Linked DNA regions of Homo sapiens: regions 1, 3 and 4 are each linked to region 2. The links are contacts of gene promoters, found by promoter capture Hi-C in blood cells and fetal thymus (Javierre and others, 2016). All regions are on one chromosome and are shown on one strand. The core of a region is centred on a gene start or on the middle of the fragment in contact, and the rest is flanking DNA. Distances in the headings are between cores, read along the strand shown. Region 1 holds the start of CDIPT (CDP-diacylglycerol--inositol 3-phosphatidyltransferase). Region 2 holds the start of NFATC2IP (nuclear factor of activated T cells 2 interacting protein). Region 3 holds the start of KIF22 (kinesin family member 22). Region 4 has its middle 7.4 kb from the start of KCTD13.

Evidence for each region. The method cuts DNA at HindIII sites, captures the fragments that hold promoters and counts their contacts. A CHiCAGO score of 5 or more calls a contact.
Region 1: a contact is called between a fragment that was not itself captured here and the fragment with the promoter of NFATC2IP in region 2, in 1 of 17 cell types (total B cells). The highest score is 6.5, in total B cells.
Region 3: a contact is called between the fragment with the promoter of KIF22 here and the fragment with the promoter of NFATC2IP in region 2, in 1 of 17 cell types (fetal thymus). The highest score is 10.5, in fetal thymus.
Region 4: a contact is called between a fragment that was not itself captured here and the fragment with the promoter of NFATC2IP in region 2, in 1 of 17 cell types (fetal thymus). The highest score is 5.2, in fetal thymus.

The regions. Positions count from the first base shown.
Region 1 is chr16:29,859,196-29,863,990 of GRCh38, reverse strand. It overlaps CDIPT (CDP-diacylglycerol--inositol 3-phosphatidyltransferase), which reads left to right and starts at 765. Exons shown (of 6, transcript NM_006319.5): 1 at 765-1,176; 2 at 1,271-1,405; 3 at 2,732-2,885; 4 at 3,329-3,410; 5 at 4,468-4,549; 6 at 4,657-4,795. The coding sequence starts at 1,134. It also overlaps the pseudogene CDIPTOSP. RefSeq lists enhancers at 107-644, 2,800-3,338 and silencers at 693-752, 763-1,072. The HindIII fragment of the contact is 2,733 bases long and covers 317-3,049 here.
Region 2 is chr16:28,949,371-28,954,669 of GRCh38, reverse strand. NFATC2IP (nuclear factor of activated T cells 2 interacting protein) reads right to left here and starts at 3,733. Exons shown (of 8, transcript NM_032815.4): 1 at 3,272-3,733; 2 at 2,466-2,538; 3 at 1-105. The coding sequence starts at 3,658. It overlaps NFATC2IP-AS1 (NFATC2IP antisense RNA 1), which reads left to right. Exons shown (of 2, transcript NR_186408.1): 2 at 1-1,768. RefSeq lists silencers at 3,278-3,397, 3,538-3,637 and enhancers at 3,357-3,857, 3,877-4,411. The HindIII fragment of the contact is 4,735 bases long and covers 1,059-5,299 here.
Region 3 is chr16:29,789,114-29,794,225 of GRCh38, reverse strand. It overlaps KIF22 (kinesin family member 22), which reads right to left and starts at 3,475. Exons shown (of 14, transcript NM_007317.3): 1 at 3,397-3,475. The coding sequence starts at 3,466. RefSeq lists an enhancer at 3,665-4,064. The HindIII fragment of the contact is 11,757 bases long and covers 1-5,112 here.
Region 4 is chr16:29,931,230-29,935,943 of GRCh38, reverse strand. No RefSeq gene overlaps it. Among named protein-coding and RNA genes, the nearest start is that of KCTD13, 7.4 kb to the right of the region's middle. The HindIII fragment of the contact is 1,730 bases long and covers 1,812-3,541 here.

The DNA of each region.
Region 1 (4,795 bases), core at 434-2,933, 910 kb before region 2:
GAAACCTTGGGCTACTCGGCAAAAGGAGAGACGTGGAGGCCTAAGGACCTCTGGTATAGGTCGTGGGGGATGGAGAATGGGAGATGGGGAGGAAGGCTGGAAAAGGGGGAGCCGGCTCCGTGTCGCTACCGGACGCTATAAAACCCTTGGAGTCTGCAGAGGTTCCGCAGCCTCGTTGCTAGGAGATCAGGGGTTCTAGAACTAAAGACAGAGGAATTTCCTAGCGCGCCCCGTTTGCTCCTCCAGCCTCCCCTCCGTACCCCTCCAGGTGCCTCCTTGAGGGCAGTGACCCCAAGCGCCAGACGCTTGAGAAGCTTGGGAGGATGACGTAGGGTGGAGCCTGCGACCTAATCCTCCCATCACAAGGGGCACGCGAAAAGCAACCCATCTGCAGGGCGCTCTGGAGCCTCTCTAGCCGCCTAGAGCCTGCGAGAGCAAAGGCGGCTGGAGACTTAGGGGGCGGGGAGTAAAGTGAGGACTGCACCAAATCTCCTGGCCTCTTGGGGACGCAAAGACTCAGGAGGAGGAATTTTATCGCCTTATCTTTGCCTCCAGGAAGTCATACCCTCCACAAAAGGAAAGCAGAGATTTTTATTCGGTCTTCTCTTTTACCCTTTCCTTTTCCGTTTCTAACTTTGCTTGACGTTAATGGTTCCTTCCTCCCTCTCCTCCTCTGCGCTTTGGTACGAGCCAAGGGAGAGGGGCGGAGGGAGGAAAAGGGAAAGGAAGCCGACAGGCCTTAAAGGGGCCGCAACTATTTTTTTAAGCCACTTTTTCCTCTCTCCAATTTTGCAACGACGGGCGCGGAGGAGGAGGTTCCCGGAAGCCACGCGCAGCTGGAGCAGCGGCGACCGCAGCTGGAGGCCCGGAGCGCCTGCGGGGCTGGCAGAGGCGAGGGAGGTTGCGGGTAGGAAGGGCGGACTGCGCGCGCCCCCTGCGTCCCGCGCACCTCGGGGCCGGTCCATGCTCCCGACGGCTGCGGGCTTCAGCATCTGGGGCCAGGTTGGGGCGGCGGGGTCCAGGGCGCAGGTGGTGCGGCCGATGCGCCGGGCCGGAGGCTGAGGCCGCGCTGCGGGGCTGGGACAGCACTGGCATCTCCAGAGCAGGCCCGGGGCAGCAAGGGAGGCGCCGCGATGCCAGACGAAAATATCTTCCTGTTCGTGCCCAACCTCATCGGTGAGTGCTGCCCACGGCCCCGGGCCGAACGAGAGGGCGAGGGGCCTTGGCGGGCTCCCTGATCCTGCCCTGTCTCCCCGCGTCCCGTTCCAAGGTTATGCCCGGATTGTCTTCGCCATCATTTCTTTCTACTTCATGCCCTGCTGCCCCCTCACGGCCTCCTCCTTCTACCTGCTCAGCGGCCTGCTGGACGCTTTCGATGGACACGCTGCTCGCGCTCTTAATCAAGGTGACAGACACCCCTCTCAGCCAGCCTTGGGGTTCAACAATCCCCTCCTCCCTTCCCCTGCCTCCTCGGGACCTCAGAGTCAGAGGGCTGTCATTCCCATCTCTGGAAAAAGCAGAACAGGATGGCCTGGGGCTTTTTGTTTTGTGTTTTGTTTTTTTGTTTTTGAGACAGGGTCTCGCTCTGTCACTTAGGCTGGAGTGCAGTGGCGCGATCATGGCTCACTGCAGCCCCCATCTTCTGGGCTCAAGTAATCCTCCCACCTCAGCCTCCTGACTAGCTGGGACTACAGGAGCGTGCCACCACACCCGGCTAATTTTTAAATTTTTGTAGAGACTGGGTCTTGCAGTGTCGCCCAGATTGGTCCCCAGCTCCTAGCCTCAAGCGATCCTCCTGCCTTGCTCCCAAAGTGCCGCGCCCAGCAAGAATGGACTGATTTTGTAGCAAAAGGAATTTAAGCTAGCTCTTGAGAACTCACTGCTTGTGAGAGGTGTGGATTAGCAAGACATGACATGGCGGTGGCGCTGCTGGAGGTCTCTCTGAATACAAGTCCATTCAGGCCAGGGGCGGTGGCTCACGCCTGTAATCCCAGCACTTTGGGAGGCCGAGGTGGGTGGATCACGAGTTCAGGAGTTCGAGACCAGCCTGGCCAACATGGTGAAACCCTGTCTCTACTAAAAATACAAAAATTAGCGGGCTTGGTGACGCGTGCCTGTAATCCCAGCTACTCGGGAGGCTAAGGCAGGAGAATTGCTTGAACCCGGGAGGCGGAGGTTGCAGTGAGCCAAGATTGCGCCATTGCACTCCAGCCTGGGCGACAGAGCAAGACTCTGTCTCGGAAAAAAAAAAACAAAAAACAAAAAACAGTGTATTCAACAGGTGTTTACTGGAGGCCTACTGTGTGCCCTGCATAAGCAGTTGGGGTTCCAGAAGGCATGCTTAGAGGGAGGATGGAGAGGGAAGGGTGATGGCTTCTGGAGGGTTGACTAATTTTTTAATCTGTTCTCCAGACCCAACTGTAAGGCTTCCCCTGAGGCATCAAGTCTCTATCTAGCCCTGGAGTCTTGGTTCTGGGGTTGATGAGTTGCAGACATAGCTTTCCTCTCCTCCTACCCTGTTCCCTCCACTCTCATGCCTTTCTCAGTTCATGCCATGGTGACCTTTGCCCACTGACCTCACACACAGCCTGTTTTCTAGCCTGCGTTCCTCCCCAGGCAGGCGGACACTTCCAGTCTTCGTTTACACCCTGCGTCAGAGTGATAAACCAAATATGGGCACCTGTCCTGCATCCACTGTGCCATAACAGCCCTTGCCCACCTAATCTTCCAGGAACCCGGTTTGGGGCCATGCTGGACATGCTGACGGACCGCTGCTCCACCATGTGCCTGTTGGTCAACCTGGCCCTGCTGTACCCTGGAGCCACGCTGTTCTTCCAAATCAGCATGAGTTTGGATGTGGCCAGTCACTGGCTGCACCTCCACAGGTCTGCTGCGATTCTGGGGGCCTGGGCCACTTGGAGACATTACAGTGGGGTGGGCTGAGCCTAGACGGAAGGGTGTCTGGGATGGCACTAGGCATCCTGGAAGGGCTCCTTTTTAGCTCTGCTTTGTAGAAAGACCCCAGGCAAACCTGCCTCTCTTTAAAGCTTCAGTCATGTTTACAGTTGCATTAAGCAATTCTTAGGACTCTTCTGGCTGGGTATTCTAGGATTCCATATAGGTGACAGCTTATAGGAAGGGGCATGGGAGCTTTCAAATGTGGCATTTGAATCCTGACTCTGCCCCCAAATAGGTAACTGTGGCTTTCGGCAGGATACTGGTCCTTAGCCGTGCCCAGTTTTCCATCTGTACAATAGGTGTTAACATGAGGATTGGATGCATGGTAGTGGTCATGAAACCTTGTGGGTTCCCCTGTTTTCTCCCCAAGTTCTGTGGTCCGAGGCAGTGAGAGTCACAAGATGATCGACTTGTCCGGGAATCCGGTGCTTCGGATCTACTACACCTCGAGGGTAAGCATTTCCTGCACACCCCACCCCTCAGGCTCTTGGCTGTGGGAAGCCCTGGGCTGAATCCTGGTCCTAGCCTAGGAGAAGGCGAGGGCGCAGAGCAGGGCCTGCCCAGTCACTCCAGGAGGAGGGCCCGTAAGCTGAGGCGTGGAGGAGGAGGATTGGTGGGGAAGGCCTGTGTGAATTACTCCAGGGAACAAGTGGGAATGAGGCCTGCAAAGAGAAGGGACTGAAAGCGGGAAGGGAGATAAGCCAGAGAGGTCTGCAGGGCTGGAGTGTGGACTTGATTCCAGGAACACAGGCAGCCTCTGGAAGGATTTTTAAAAAGATAATGGCTGGGCATGGTGGCTCATGCCTGTAATCCCAGCGCTTTGGGAGGCTGAGGTGGGAGGATTGCTTGAGGCCAGGAGTTTGAGACCAGCCTGGGCAACAAAGTGAGACTCTGTTTCCACACACACACAAAATCTTGAATTAGCTTAGCCAGGCACAGTGGTACACGCCTGTAGTCTCTACTTAGGAGGCTAAGGTGGAAGGATTGCGTGAGACCAAGGGTTTATTTATTTATTTATTTATTTTTTTGAGACAGAGTCCTGCTCTGTCACCCAGGCTGGAGTTCAGTGGCGGGTTATCGGCTCACTGCAACCTCTGCCTGCTGGGTTCAAGCGATTCTTGTGCCTCAGCCTCCTGAGTGGCTGGGACTACCGGCACGTGCCACCACACTCGGCTAATTTTTGTATTGTTAGTAGAGAGGGGTTTCGCCACGTTGGCCAGGCTGGTCCCAAACTCCTGACCTCAGGTGATCCGCCTGTCTCAGCCTCCCAAAGTGCTGGGACTCCAGGCATGAGCCACACGCCTGGCTGAGACCAGGAGTTTTGAGGCTGCAGTGCTATGATCATACTACTGCATTCCAACCTGGATGAGAGAGCGAGACCCTGTCTGTAAAAAAGAAAAAAAAATAAGAGAAGTAATATGCCGAGATTGTGCCTTCATTAGTGCTGGGGGGGCAGGGGGTGGCACACGCCTGCCTCTTGCTAACGTGGCCTGTTTGCTGTGTGTGCAGCCTGCTCTGTTCACCTTGTGTGCTGGGAATGAGCTCTTCTACTGCCTCCTCTACCTGTTCCATTTCTCTGAGGGACCTTTAGGTAGGAGATGAGGGGCTGGGCAGGAGGATGGGAGGGGGATCTGGCCTGCCCAGGGAGATGGAGGCCCCCTCCTTCGGGCCCCAAACTCCCCTGCTGCCTTCCTGCAGTTGGCTCTGTGGGACTGTTCCGGATGGGCCTCTGGGTCACTGCCCCCATCGCCTTGCTGAAGTCGCTCATCAGCGTCATCCACCTGATCACGGCCGCCCGCAACATGGCTGCCCTGGACGCAGCAGACCGCGCCAAGAA
Region 2 (5,299 bases), core at 2,484-4,983:
TTTTCTTCTCTTCTTTATCCTTAGTCCTCAGCTTTGTCTTCCAGGGAGAGCCTGGTGATGGGGAGCCCTCATGGTAGAGACCACTCGAATCTGCCAGCTCTGCCTCTGGGGGCAGAGGAAGAGAAGGTAGAAGGGGGTTATCCAAGGGAGGCCAGCGAAGGCCAAGAAGAAACAAGTCAGAGGCTTCAAGAAGGTCCTAGGAAAGGAGGAGACCACGGAGCCCCTGGCACACACAGGGCCACATGATAATATTGGGAAAGGGGGCAGGGGATGAGACTGCTATTTAGTATAAAGATAGCTCATATTAACTTAAAATTAACTTAAATTTCTCATGAAAGGAAACCAGGTATTATTTTCTATAATATAGAAATTTCTATTTGCCCGCTGTCAATAAAAGATCATCACAAACCACAAAAATAAATACTGTGAAAATTAAAAAATGATAAGAAACCCTAGATCAGTGGCTCTGAACCAGGGACAATTTTGCCTCTGCGGGGACATATAGCAATGTTTAGAGACAATATTGGTTATCAAAATGTGGAGGGCGAGGGGGCTGAGGTATAATACTTCCCAGGGATGGAAGTCAGGATGCCGCTAAACTTTCTACAATGCACAGGACAGTTTCCAACACCAAAGAATTTTCCAGTCCAAAAAATGCCAGTAATGCTGAAGTCATGAAATCCTGTCCTAACTAACTATGGCAGCTGCAAGAGGCCTATGATTCTGCATTTCGTTTTTCTTTTTTTTTTTTTGAGACCAGGTCCTACTGTGTCACCCAGGTTGGAGTGCAGTGGCATGATCATGGCTCACTGCAGCCTCGACTTCCTGGGCTCAGGTGTTTCTCCCACCTCAGCCTCCTGAGTAGCTAGGACTACAAGTACACATCACCATGCCTGGTTAATTTTTTATTTTTCTGTAGAAACAGGGTCTCATCATGTTGCGCAGGCTGGTCTCGAACTCCTGGGCTCAAGCAATCCTCCCATCTCAGCCTCCCAAAGTGCTGGGATTACAGCACTTTGAGCCATTGTGCCCAGCCGATCCTGCATTTCTAGCAAGCTTCCAACGGATGCCATATATGGCTGGGCCCACGTTTTGAGTATCAGGGATAGAGGTACCTTTTACGTAGCACTTCTGTGTCCTAGGTACTGTCCTAAAGCATATATCTAGCCAAGAGGCAGCTCTCTCTATATTCCCTTTCGTTAATTCTCACCAAAATCAGCACCAAAATGGGGTCTACTATTATCCCCACTTTGATAATGAGGAAATTGAAGCACTGAGAAATTAAGAAACTTGCCCAGGCTGGGCGTGGTGGCTCACGCCTGTAATCCCAGCACTTTGGGTGACCAAGGCAGACAGATCACCTAAGGTCAGGAGTTCGAGATCAGCCTGGCCAACATGATGAAACCCCATCTCTACTAAAAATACAAAAAAGCCAGACATGGTGGCGGGCGCCTGTAATCCCTGCTACTCGGGAGGCTGAGGCAGGAGAATGGCTTCAACCTGGGAGATGGAGGTTGCAGTGAGCTAAGATTGCGCCACTACACTCCACCCTGGGTGACAGAGTGAGACTCTGTCTCAAAACAAGAAAAAAGAAACTCGCCTAAGATCACACAGCTATTAAGAGATAGAGCTGAGGCCGGGCACAGTGGCTCACGCCTGTAATCCCAGCAATTTGGGAAGCTAAGATGGGCGGATCACCTGAGGTCAGGAGTTCAAGACCAGCCAGGCCAACATGGTGAAACCCCATCTCTATTAAAAATACAAAAAATTAGCCAGGCGTGGTGGGAATTAGTCAGCTACTGGGAAGGCTGAGGCAGGAGAATCGCTTGAACCCAGGAGGTGGAGGTTGCAGCGAGCCGAGATCGTGCCATTGCACTCCAGCTTGGGCAACAAAAGCGAAACTCTGTCTAAAAAAAAAAAAAAAAAAGAGAGAACTGAGATTCAAACCCAGGCCAGATGGCTCCTGTTTGCTTTTAATCACCCCACTGTACTCCCTCATGGTACAAGAGTCTTGGTCCAAGGTCTCCATTTGCCCACTGGATTATTTCCTTATTAGACTAGATTCCTATTCCCCGCCCTTGAGTTGTTTGCAAAAAATGCATCAGTGGGGGAGGACAAAGACAGGGCATCCCTGATAAGATTCAGAGAACACCCTGCTGGCTCCAGTGTTCCCAAAGAACTTGCTGCAGATGTAACAAGATGTCACAGATTCTCAACACCTTACCGCCTCCTGCCCCGCCCAGGACTACAGAATCAGCATCTCTTCAGGTGGCACCAGAAATGTATACATTAATACATTCTATGCTTGTTAACAATCCAGCTCCTGTGGCTGGGATGCAGGAGTCCCCTCTCCCACGCTCTTCCCTTGAGCCTCAGGAGACAACTGACTGCAGGAATATAAACCCCAGGAATTCTCTTAAGAGAAGCCAGCGGCTGCGTGCCTCTCCCTGGAGGCCCTCCCTTACCTTCCTCATCCCCTGGAGGGTAGAGTTTCAGGAGGGATAGATCATCTGGGATAAGGCGAAGGCTGCTTTTAACCTGCAAAGACAAAGAAGGGAGAGGGGTCAGGCCCAAGTCCTTCCCCTACCGAAAGAAAAAATTGGGGGTAATTCTTCCCTGACACCCAGCTCCCAAATCCTCCCTAAGATCGTGGACACCTTGGCCCTCTCCTGGCAACCTAGAAGTCCAGCTTCCCCAGGATTCAGAATGGAAGTACCCTTCACCCTTTCCTCCATCTGCCTAAGACACTCTGAAATGTATGCTTCCTTGCCCTTTTTAACTAGGTTACTAGCCGCCCCTCTACCCCTGACTCTTAGGGACTCTCAGCCCATTGCTCACACGACCATCGGGGGACCCCAGCCTCTGGAGCCGCCCAGTCCTCTCTGAACCCGCATGGACCCCAACCCCCAATACTGCAGCTCCCTGGCTTCATTTGCCATGGACCCCAACCTCAAAATCCAACGGCCCCAGGTCCTCCCAGTCCCTCTCCAAAATCTCAGGAATCCCAGCTCTTCAGCCTCCCTGTGCCCCCAAGACTCTAGCTCCTAGGAATCCTAAACTTCCAACGCATCCCACCCTCCTTCACCACCCCAGTCTGCAGAAAGTCCCGGAGCCCTGCCTCTCCCTGCCTCCAACACCCTAACGCCCGAGGACCAGCCCCAGAACGCCAGCCTCAACACCCCTATAGCCCTACCCTCCCCGAACGCCGGCCCCTCCCTGGAGGCCAAGCCCTTGGCCCTTCCGCCGGTCCCCTCCCCGGGACCGGGCGCACCTTCCCCGAGTACACCGGAACCAGCGGCGCCTCCCCCGGATCCAGCACCAGCCGCCGCCGCCGCCTGACCGGCTCCCGCGGGGGTCCTGCGGGCCGCCTGTCCTCCCCTTCGCTGTCACTGTTGCTGTTATCCCGGGACGCGACCGGCCCCGGGGGCTCCGGGGGCTCCACCTCAACCTCGTCCGCGGCACCGCGAGCGGTGGCGACCTCCAGAATTTCCTCATCGCTGTCGGTGACCAAGTCCACAGACACTACGTCCAGCGTGCCCCGGGATGGAGACCGCTGGGCCCGAGGACGCCGGCCCCGACCGCCCCAGCCGCCCCGACCCCCTCGGCCGGCACCGCTACCTCCGGACCAGCGGCCCCGCTTCCCCACAGGCTCCGCCATGGCACACTTTCCTCCACAACACACGCCCGCCTCCTCTCGCCTCGCCCCGCCCCCTTCAGCGACTTTCGCCTTGCATTGGACAAACAGCCTGCTCGTCAGCAACTCTTCGCGCCCCACGCGCGGGATCCGCCTTCCCGCCTTTTCATTGGTCTCTGTACCCGCTCATCATGCGCCCACCTCTGAAACCAAGGCGCCAAAGATTCCAATCACCTCGGCACAATCACCGTAGCTTTCGATTCAGTCGGCCTCACCCATTGGCTGGGCCACCTCTCCACAGACGAGCCTCTCCCGGACCCGCCCAACCAAGACAACCGTCTTCCGGCTTGGTTAGTCGCAGGGCATCCTGGGAAATGTAGTCCTCGAGCGGTAAGGTTTCCGGGAGAAGGAAGGCGGGCCTGGAATTCCCTGTGGAAACCGCGGATTTAACCAGGCGCGGTGCCTCACGCCCGTAATCCTGGCACTTTGAAAGGCTGAGGCGGGCAGATTGGTTGAGCTCAGGAGTTTGAGACCAGCCTGGCCAATGTGGCGAAACCGCGTCTCTACTAAGAATGCAAAAATTACCCGGGCGTGGTGGCACCCCTCTGTGGTCCCAACTACTCAGGAGGCTGAGGTGGGAGTTTCGCTGGAGCCCGGGAGGCGGAGATCGCACCACTGCACCCCAGCCTGGGTGACAGGGCGAGACCCTGTCTCAAAAATGCTTTAAAGAAATAATAAGGCTGGCCGCGCGCGGTGGCTCACGCCTGTAATCCCAGCACTTTGGGAGGCCGAGGCAGGCGAATCACGAGGTCAGAAGTTCAAGACCAGCCTGGCCAACACGGTGAAACCCCGTCTCTACTAAAAATACAAAAATTAGGCGGGCGTGGTGGCGTGCGCCTGTAATCCCAGCTACTCAGGAGGCTGAGGCAGGAGAATTGCTTGAGCCCGGGAGGCAGAGGTTACAGTGAGCCAGATCCTGCCGCTGCACTCCAGCCTGGCCGACAGAGCGAGACTCTCTCTCAAAAAAAGAAAGAAAGATAGAAATAATAAGGCTGGGCGTGGTGGCTCACGCCTATAATCCAGCACTTTGGGAGGCCGAGGTGGGCAGATCACCTGAGGTCAGGAGTTCGAGACCAGCCTGACCAACATGGTAAAACCCTGTCTCTACTAAAATACAAAAATTAGACAGGCGTAGTGGCAGGCGCCTATAATCTCAGCTACTCGGGAGGCTGAGGCAGGAGAATCGCTGGAACCCAGGAGGCAGAGGTTGCACTGAGCCAAGATTGTACCACTGCACTCCAGCCTGGGCAACAGAGTGAGACTCCATCTCAAAAAAAAATCTTATGTATTTATTTATTTTTAAATTTTATTTTATTCATTTATTTAATTTTATTTATTTATTTATTTTGAGATGGAGTTTCGCTCTTATTGCCCAGGCTGGAGTGCAATGGCTCGATCTCGGTTCACTGCAACCTCTGCCTCCCAGATTCAAGCAATTCTCGTGCCTCAGTCTCCAAGTAGCTGGGATTGATTACAGGCGTGCACTACCATGCCCAGCTAATTTTGTATTTTTAGTGGAGATGGGGTCTCACCATGTTGGTCAGGCTGGTCTTGAACTCCTGACCTCAGGTGATCCACCCCCCTCCGCCCCCGCCTTGGCCTCCC
Region 3 (5,112 bases), core at 2,226-4,725, 840 kb before region 2:
AGCTAGTGACTGACAGCTTCAAATGAAGATCTAACTCCAAAGTGCTTTATATGAACCCTCCTCAGCCTCCTTAGCCCCTTCATCTTTGCATCTCATAAGAATGTGAGGATTCAAAGTAATAATGTACATACAATGTTTAGCACAGTGCCTGGCAGCAACTGCTCAGTCCTTAGCTGTTATTATTACACCCTTTCTCTTGCTACCCACTCCTCCATCCCTGCAACTTGCTTCTGCCCTCACTATTCAGCAGGGTCACCCATGACTTCCCTAGTGCTAGATCCAGTAGGCATACTCAGCCTCAATCCTGTTGGACCTCCCAGAAGTATGCGACACTCTTGGGAAACACACTTTTCCCTTCATTTCCATGCCCCCCACCTTCCTGGTTGTCTTACCTAGTTTTCTGTTCACTCCTCATCCTAGGATCCGTCTATCCTTTCTCTAGACCAGCATTTCTCAACTTCAGCACTACTGACATTTCGGGCTGGCTAATTCCGTTGTGGGGCTGTCCTGTGCATTTAGACTGTTAGCATATGCTTACTAGATGCCAGTAGCATTCTCCACCCTCACCCTCAAGTTGTAACAACTAAAAATCTCTCCAGACATCTCCAAATGTCCTGTGAGGGACAAAGTTGCCCCGAGCTGAGACCACTCAGATTCATTTCATAGGCAGGTCACCCGCCCTCTTGGCTTCAGTAACATCTTACAGCTGATAAGTCCTATTGCACGTTCTGCACAAGAGCTCTCAACTGCAGCCCACGTTCTGAACGGCTGCCCTGACGGCTCCTTTTTTTTGAGACAGAATCTCACTGTCGCCAGGCTGGAGTGCAGTGGCGCTCTTGGCTCACTGCAATCTCCGCCTCCCGGTTCAAGCGATTCTCCTGCCTCAGCCTCCCGAATAGCTGGGACTACAGGTGCACGCCACCACGCCCAGCTAATTTTTGATTAATTTTAGAGACAGGGTTTCACCATGTTGGCCAAGATGGTCTCGATCTCTTGACCTCGTGATCCACCCACCTTGGTCTCCCAAAATGCTGGGATTACAGGCGTGAGCCCAGCCGACGGCTCCTCTTAAACTCCACCTGTCCTAAACTGAACCCTCCTTCCCCATCTCTCTGCAGCCTCCTCCTTTGATCTCTGATGTAAATGAATGGCACCAACCCCAAAAGTGGGAGTCTTTAACTCCAACGTCTCTTACCTCCCACATCAGTTCATCATTAACATCTGTCAAGTCTATCTCTTTAAATCTCTCTTGAACAAGTCCACTTCTCTCCACTCCCACTGCACTACCTCTGCCCAAGGTCATGGTCTTTACAGCCTTCCTTGCTGGTGGTAGCAAGGTGTCTCCCTGCCCTCTAGTCATTCCCTCTGTTTCCTTCCTTGCAGTGTAAGTTACCAGTCATGATGAATTTCCTTCACTTCCTACAAAACTCCAAGTTCTCTTGCACCTTTGGATTTTTGTCCACGTTAATCTCTCTCCCTAGAATATCTGCATTGCTCCCCACCCCACCCTGGAGTGACTAAGGTAAACACATTTTAACTCCTCTTAAAAAACAAAACCAAAAACCCTTTCCTGGTAGACACTAAGGCTTTATCAGGTGCAACCACAGCTCATGTTAGCCCCTCCATAAGCATTTGTCACACCCCACTATTGCGTGTTTGTCACTTTCTCCACCTGACTGCCAACTGTGAGAACAAGTTTTATCCTGCTCACCTTTCTAACCCCAACACCTGGCGCAGAGTAGGCCCTCAAGAAGTATTTGCTGAAAAAAATTAAGATTTAGTGAATAAACTACTAATCACTGGCTTGTTCATTTCCATCATGAAAATGGCTCACGGCCATTCCTGCCCCAGGGCTCACAGTCCAGGGTAGGAGGGAAGAGGGGAGGGCCACATGTAAACAATTATTTACTGCACAAGAGTCTAGCCCTTTCATGATAAAAGCAACCTTGAGCTTGGACCAGGCTAGCAATTATTAATTTTCCCTTCTTTCACAATTCCTAAATTTCATTCACTCTTCTCCCTTTTATTGATGAGGAAATTGAGCTAAGAGAGCATCTTACATCATAAATAAGAAAACACTTGCTGTTCTTGTCTTCTTAGTCAAGGCCTGGCAAACTCCTATCCAACCTTTGAAACCCATCTCAAGTATCATTCACTCCCTTAATGAAGTCCTCCCAGAATACTCAAGGGCTTACTTCAGATTCCACACCCTCAGTTTATACACATCTCTCATTGTGTTTCGTATTACATCTACGTATGTGACACTCTATTGAAACAGACTGTAAATTCCTCGAGGAAGGGACATTATTCATTCAGGCATTTTCATATCTACCATGCACCGGACACAGTGCATCTTCGAAGGGTAAGGGGAGACTGTGCTCAGCCAGCAGGGATAACATGTACTTGGGCATAATGGTTAAGAGCAGAGGTTCTACACTCAGACTCCTTGAGAGCGAATTCAAGCCCCAATATTTACTAGTTGTGTTAACTCTGAACAAACTAACCTCAGTTTCCTGTGTAAAACAAAGACAGTAATAGTAACAACCTGATAGCATTGTGTGGACAATAAATGGTTCACCACCATAAAATGCCTACAACTGTGCCTGGCACATAGCAAGAGCTCTACATGTGTTAGGCATTCTCCTAAATGTCTGTTTCCCCACGAGGCTAACGAGGGCTCCAGTGAATTACTATGGCGCTCACCATCATCACTAACGAGGATTAAGTCTCCGGGTTAGAGAGGCACATGTAAACAAATACTCACATACAAGATTTTGGGTGTCCTAACAGCCTTTCCAACCCTAAAATAGCATTCACTTCCATGCTAGAGTGAAAGGAAATTTTAGTCTTTTATTTCGTTTTCCTGTAATCGCAGAGCATCTTACGCTGCCAACTCAAACCCAGCAGCAGCCGGGTCTGTTCCTCAGCCCGTCCTCTTGCATCTCTCAGGGATGTCTCTGCACCCAAACACCATGTCCCACACAGAACCCTTCCCAATACACGCCTCCGGCTCCCTTCTTCTCGTCCTCGTGGCTAGAGCGTCCGCCACTCTTCTCTTGCTTATTCAGGTGATCTCCAGGGATGAGGCCATGACCCCCGTTTCACAGACGAAGAAACCGAAGCTCACAAAGAAAAAGTGCGCGGGGTTCAAGCCAAGAGCCTGGACCGGAGACCCGAGTCTACTGACCCAAGGGGAGAGCAGGAAACAGGGAGAAGGCAGGAGCCAGGCGGGGCGACCGGCTCGCGACCCCACACTCTCACCGTCCCCCTCTCCCCGCCCCTGCGCCATGGCCGCCTCTCCGCGACAACCCGCAGAGCCTGGACCACACTCCGACACATAACTCCCACTAAACTCCAGACGTCGGTACCCGCCTTGCCCAGGCCGGGCTCAAGTACCTGAGATCGCCGCCGCTGAAGCTGCCGCCATCTCGCGTCGCCTCTGCTGCGTCGAGCCGCCCGCGGCCATTCCACTCCCTCCTTGGGCCCGCCTCTCCCATTCGAATTCCCCGGTGCCCCGCCCCCTCTCCCAGGTTCCACCAATCAAGACTACGCGCCGCCGGAAGCTGCTGCGTGTGGGTCGCCACTATCCCGCCTTCCAGCGCTCGCCTCCGGGTCCCCAAGAAAAGGTTCCCCTGGTCAGGACGCATGCGCGCGCGTGGGCCGCGCAGCCGTTGATGTCTGGAAGCGCGCTGCGATACAAACCCCTACGCAGGGATGTTGGCGACGGTGGCCGCTGGGGGAGCTGCTCAGCGCCGCCCGGCACTGGGCTCCCTTTCCCTTTACTTTCTGCAGTTTCTTGCCTCCGTGGGTGGTTGGCGCGTCTGCGGAGCCAGGGTCGTTGTGTGGATCGTGGGACTGCAGCCCCAGCCAAAGGGCTATCACGTCTGGTCGGTTCTGTAGATCTGGGCCCCAGGGGCTGGACTCTGGGCAGTCACGTTGCAGTCGCTGCCTGCTGGGCCCAAGGCCACTGTAGGTCCCCTCGCGTCCGTGTCAGCCCAGGAGAGCAGCTTGGATGTTCCTGTCTTTATAACTTGGCACTCAGCACGTCGGCGAAGCGTGGAAAACGCTTAGTCTGTGATTCAGTCCCACTCACCCACGGTTCCGGTTCCCAGTCCTTAAGAGTACAGCAGTCCGTTGAGTAGCTCTCTGTCCTTTCTGAAGGGTTGGCTAGGGACGGTCATTCCACTTTTGAGCACCAGGTAGGTAGGGCCCAGGTTTAGACATTATGTTCCACCCTGTTGAACAACAAAACAAAACACGGGCCGGGCGCGGTGGCTCAGTCCTGTAATCCCAGCACTTTGGGAGGCTGAGGCGGGAGGCTCACCTGAGGTGAGGAGCTCGAGACCAGCCTGGCCAACATGGCGAAACCCCGTCTCTACTAAAAACACAAAAATTAGCCGGGGATGGTGGCACGCCTGTAGTCCTAGCTACTCGGGAGGCTGAGGCAGGAGAATCGCTTGAACCCGGGAGGTGTAGGTTGCAATGAGCCGAGATGGTGCCACCGCACTCCAGCCACGGCGCCAGAGTGAGACTCCGTCTCAAAACAAAAAACACAAATCTTAGATCAGTGTTTCTGAAACGTTTTGCCTTGGGATCCCACTACAGTTTTTAAAAATGAGGCCTCCAAAGATGTTTTGTGTATATGAGGGTTTTTGTTTTTTTGTTTTTGAGACGGGGTTTCACTTCCATCTCCCAGGCTAGAGTGCAGTGGCTCAATCTCGGTTCACTCCAACCTCTGCCTCTTGGGTTCAAGTGATTCTCCTGCCTCAGCCTCCCGAGTAGCTGGGATTACAGGTGTGCACCACCACGCTCAGCTAATTTTTGTATTTTTATGGAGACAGGGTTTCACCATGTTGGCCAGGCTGGTCTCAAACTCCTGACCTCAAGTGATCCACCCGCCTTGGCCTCCCAAAGTGCTGGGATTACAGGTGTGAACCACCAGGCCTGGCCGTATATACTGTGTGTGAAGTGAAACTAAATTAAAGTTGACATTAATGAATTTAAAAATTACAGTAAAAAACCCATAGACATAAAAAGGACATCTAAGTAGTGGTTGCCAGGGGATGGTGAGGGGCTGAGGAGCTGGCACTACAGCAATAGATATAACGAGTT
Region 4 (4,714 bases), core at 1,427-3,926, 980 kb before region 2:
AAATGGACTAATACACCCATAATAATTTAAAATTAAAAAATTAGCAGGCCGGGCACAGTGGCTCACGCCTGTAATCCCAGCACTTTGGGAGGCTGAGGAGGGCGGATCACAAGGTCAGGAGATTGAGACCATCCTGGCTAACATGAGGAAATCCTGTTTCTACTAAAAAAAATACAAAAAAATTAGCCGGGCGTTGTGGCGGGCGCCTGTAGTCCCAGCTTACTCAGGAGGCTGAGGCAGGAGAATGGCGTGAACCCGGGAGGCAGAGCTTGCAGTGAGCCAAGATCGTGCCACCGCACTCCTGCCTGGGTGACAGAGCAAGACTCCATCTCAACATCAACAAAATAATAATAAAAAAAAAAAGTAAAAGAATTTTTAAAGTGCAGCAGAAAAAATAATTTTTTAAATGCTATGTGATGCTAATCATCTCCACATGAGCAGTTTATCTCTCCAGTAAATTATGTATTACAGTAAAAAGTGATCTCTTGTGGTTCTCCTGTGTTCTTTATTGTGTTTAGTGCAATACTGTAAGCCTTGTATAACACCACGGGACCCACGTGAAGTGCCACTAGTCATGCTGGAAGTGCTTCTAAGAAGCAGGGGAAAGTCATGACATTACAAAAAAAAGTTCAACTGCTTGATATGTAATGTGGATTGGGGTCTGCAGCTGTGGCTGCCCACCATTTCAGACAGATGATTCATCTTATAAACATACGACATAAACTTATGGTATACATAATACAGTACAGTACCATAAATATATTTTCTCTTCCTATGATTTTCCTAATAACATTTTCTTTTCTCTACTTTACTTTGTTGTAAGACTACAGTATATAATATATAAAACATGCAGAGTATGTGTTAATTGACTGTTTCTGTTATTGGTAAGGCTTCTGGTTCACAGTAGGCTATTGGTAGTTAAGTTTGGGGGGAGTCAAAAGTTATATGAGGCCAAGGCCAGGGGCAGTGGCTCACACCTGTAATCCCAGTACTTTGAAAGGCAGAGGTGGGCAGATCACTTGTGGTCAGAGTTCAAGACCAGCCTGGCCAACATGGTGAAACCCCATCTCTATTAAAAATACTAAAATTAGCTGGGTGTGGTGGCGGACACCTGTAATCCCAGCTATTTGGGAGGCTGGAGCAAGAGAAGCACTTGAACCCAGGAGGCGGAGGTTGCAGTGAGCTGAGATCACACCACTGCACTCCAGCCTGGGTGACAGATCGAGGCTCTGTCAAAAAAAAAAAAAAAAAAAGAAAAAGGCTGAGGTGGGAGGATTGCTTGAGGCCAGGAGTACAAGACCAGCCCAGGCAACATATTAAGACCTTATCTCTACAAAAGAAAAATAGTTATATATGGATTTTCAACTGTGTTGGGGTTGGCACCCCTAACCCCCACAATGTTCAAGGGTCAACTGCAGGAAGACTTGAAAATTGAAATTACTCCTTGGCTTATGGGCTGAAGAACAGATACTGCATTAGTAGGCAGGAAAACAGCATTAATTTCCTTGTACATCTCCATTAGAGCTCTTGGATGACCAGAGGAACTGTCATAATATTTTGAAAGGAATCTCTTTTTCTGAGCACTAGGTCTCAACAGTGGGCTTAAAATATTCCATGAACCATGCTATAAACAGACATGTGGCCATTCAGGCTTTTTTGTTCCATTAATAGGGGACAGGCAGAATGGATTTAGCATAATTCCTCAGGGCCCTAGGACTTTCAAAATGGTTAATGAGCATTGGCTTCAACTTAAAGTCACCAGACCAGCTGCATTAGTCCCTGACAAGAGAGTCAACCTGTCCTTCAAAGCTTTGACTTCTCCTCTCTAGCTATAAAATTCCTAGATGGCATCTTCTTCCAATAGAAGGCTGTTCTGTCTACATTGGAAATCTGTTGTTTAGTAAACCATCTTCATCAATTATCTTACTAGATCTTCTGGATAACTTGCTGCAGCTTCTACACAGCACTTGCTGCTTCATCTTGCACTTTTATGTTCTGCAGATGGCTCATTTCCTTAAATCTCATGAACTAGCCTCTGCTACCTTCAAATTTTTCTCCTGCAGCTTCCTAATCCCTCTCAGTCTTCATAGTAATGAAGAGATTTAGAGCTGTTGTGGCTGTTTTGATCTATTCAGGCCACTAAAACTTTCTCCATATCAGCAATCAGGCTGTTCCAGTTTTTTTTTTTCTTTTGAGACAGAGTCTCGCTCTGTTGCCCAGGCTGGAGTGCAGTGATGCGATCTTGGCTCACTGTAACCTCTGCCTCCTGGATTCAAGTGATTCTCCTGCCTCAGCCTCCTGAGCAAGACTCCACTGCAAAAACAAACAAACAAACAAACAAAAAACACTTGCTCAACACAGGGTTGCCACACATCTTCAATTTGTAAGAAATGCAATATCTGTGAAGAGCAATAAAGTGAGGTGTAATAAAACAAGGAGTGCCTGTGTATAATTTTCATTTAAACAATTTATGAAAACCATCACAATTTACTTAACTCATAAGATCAACATAAATACATTGAGAAGGCTTAAATCATGAGGGCCAGGAGCAGTGAGTGGTTCATGTCTGTAATCACAACACTTTGGGAGGCCAAGGTGGGAGAACTGCTTGAGCCCAGGAGCTCAAGATCAGCCTGGGTAACATGTGAGACCCTGTCTATACAACAACAACAAAAAATTGGCTGGGCATGGTGGTGTGTGCCTGGGGTCCCAGCTACTTGGGAGGCTGAGAGAGGAGGATCTCTTGAGCCCAGAAGGTTGAGGCTGCAGTGAACCATGATCATGCCACTGCAGTCCAGATGGGGTGACAGAGTGGGACCCTGTCTCAGAGAGAGAGAGAGAGAGAAAGAGAATTAACCCTGTTCTTGTACAAACCAAAATATCACGCTGGCATCATTTTTACATGAGTGAATAAAAAATTTAACTGAATCATGCCAAAAGCTCTTCTTTTGTCTTGGAACTAAGACCTTTTTTTTTTTTTTGAAATGGAGTTTTTGCTCTTGTTGCCCAGGCTGCAGTGCAGTGGCAAAATCTCGGCTCACAGCAACCTCCACCTCCTGGGTTCAAGCGATTCTCCTGCCTCAGCCTCCTGAGTAGCCGGGATTACAGGCACCCGCCACCATGCCTGGCTAATTTTTTTGTATTTTTTTTAGTAGAGACGGGGTTTCCCCGTGTTAGCCAGGATGGTCTCGATCTCCTGACCTCGTGATCCGCCCTCCTCGGCCTCCCAAAGTGCTGGGACTACAGGCGTGATAGATCTTTTCTTCTAACTGGAAGAGCAAAGGCTATTACATAAATATACTTTTTAGTGCCTATATGTACAGACACTATATATATATACGTATATACATGTATTTTTTTTTGTATAGACAGGGTCTCACATGTTACCCAAGCTGATCTTGATATACATGTATATACGTATATATATATGATTTTCTGTTTCTTTTAGCATTTTAGGCATTTCTATTTCTTTTAGGACTGGATTTACCTAGACTGTGCACATACAACTGAAAAATTTTTTGATTAGTTAATCTTTAAAGCTTTCCAAGAGAGGTGAGGAAAAAGAGAATGAAATGGACAGCAGGAAAGTGTGAGAAGACAATGAGATACCATCTCACACCAGTTAGAATGGCGATCATTAAAAAGTCAGGAAACAACAGGTGCTGGAGAGGATGTGGAGAAATAGGAACACTTTTACACTGTTGGTGGGACTGTAAACTACTTCAACCATTGTGGAAGCTGGTGTGGCGATTCCTCAGTGATCTAGAATTAGAAATACCATTTGACCCGGCCATTCCATTACTGGGTATATACCCAAAGGATTATAAATCATGCTGCTATAAAGACACATGCACACATATGTTTATTGTGGCACCATTCACAATAGCAAAGACTTGGAACCAAGCCAAATGTCCAACAATGATAGACTGGATTAAGAAAATGTGGCACATATACACCATGGAATACTATGCAGCCATAAAAATTGATGAATTCATGTCCTTCGTAGAGACATGGATGAAGCTGGAAACCATCATTCTCAGCAAACTATGGCAAGGACAAAAAACCAAACACCACATGTTCTCACTCATAGGTGGGAATTGAACAATGAGAACACATGGACACAGAAAGAGGAACATTACACACCGGGGACTGTTGTGGGGTGGGGGGAGGGGGGAGGGATAGCATTAGGAGATATACCTAATGCTAAATGACGAGTTAATGGGTGCAGCACACCAACATGGCACATGTATACATATGTAACAAACCTGCACGTTGTGCAAATGTACCCTAAAACTTAAAGTATAATAATTAAAAAATTAAAAATAAAACTAAATTCCTAGAAATAAAAGCATTTTGAACATAAAAAAAAAAAAAAAGAAAATGTGAGAAGAAGCTACTTCAGACAAACATGAAATTATCACTCCAAAAGGCTAAGGTTATATTCCCTCTGCAAGGAGAAGGAAGACAGTTTAAACACAGGAAAATAGATTTTGACATATAAACACTGTCTTAGTCCATTCTGTGTTGCAATAGAATACCTGAGGGGCTGGGTACTTTATTTTTAAAAATTTATTTCTTACAGTTCTGGAGGGTGGGAATTCCAAAGTCAAGCAGCCACATCTGGTGAGGGCCTTCTTTTTTTTTTAGATGGAGTTTTGCTCTTGTTGCCCAGGCTGGAGTACAATGGCATGATCTCAGTTCACTGTAGCCTCCA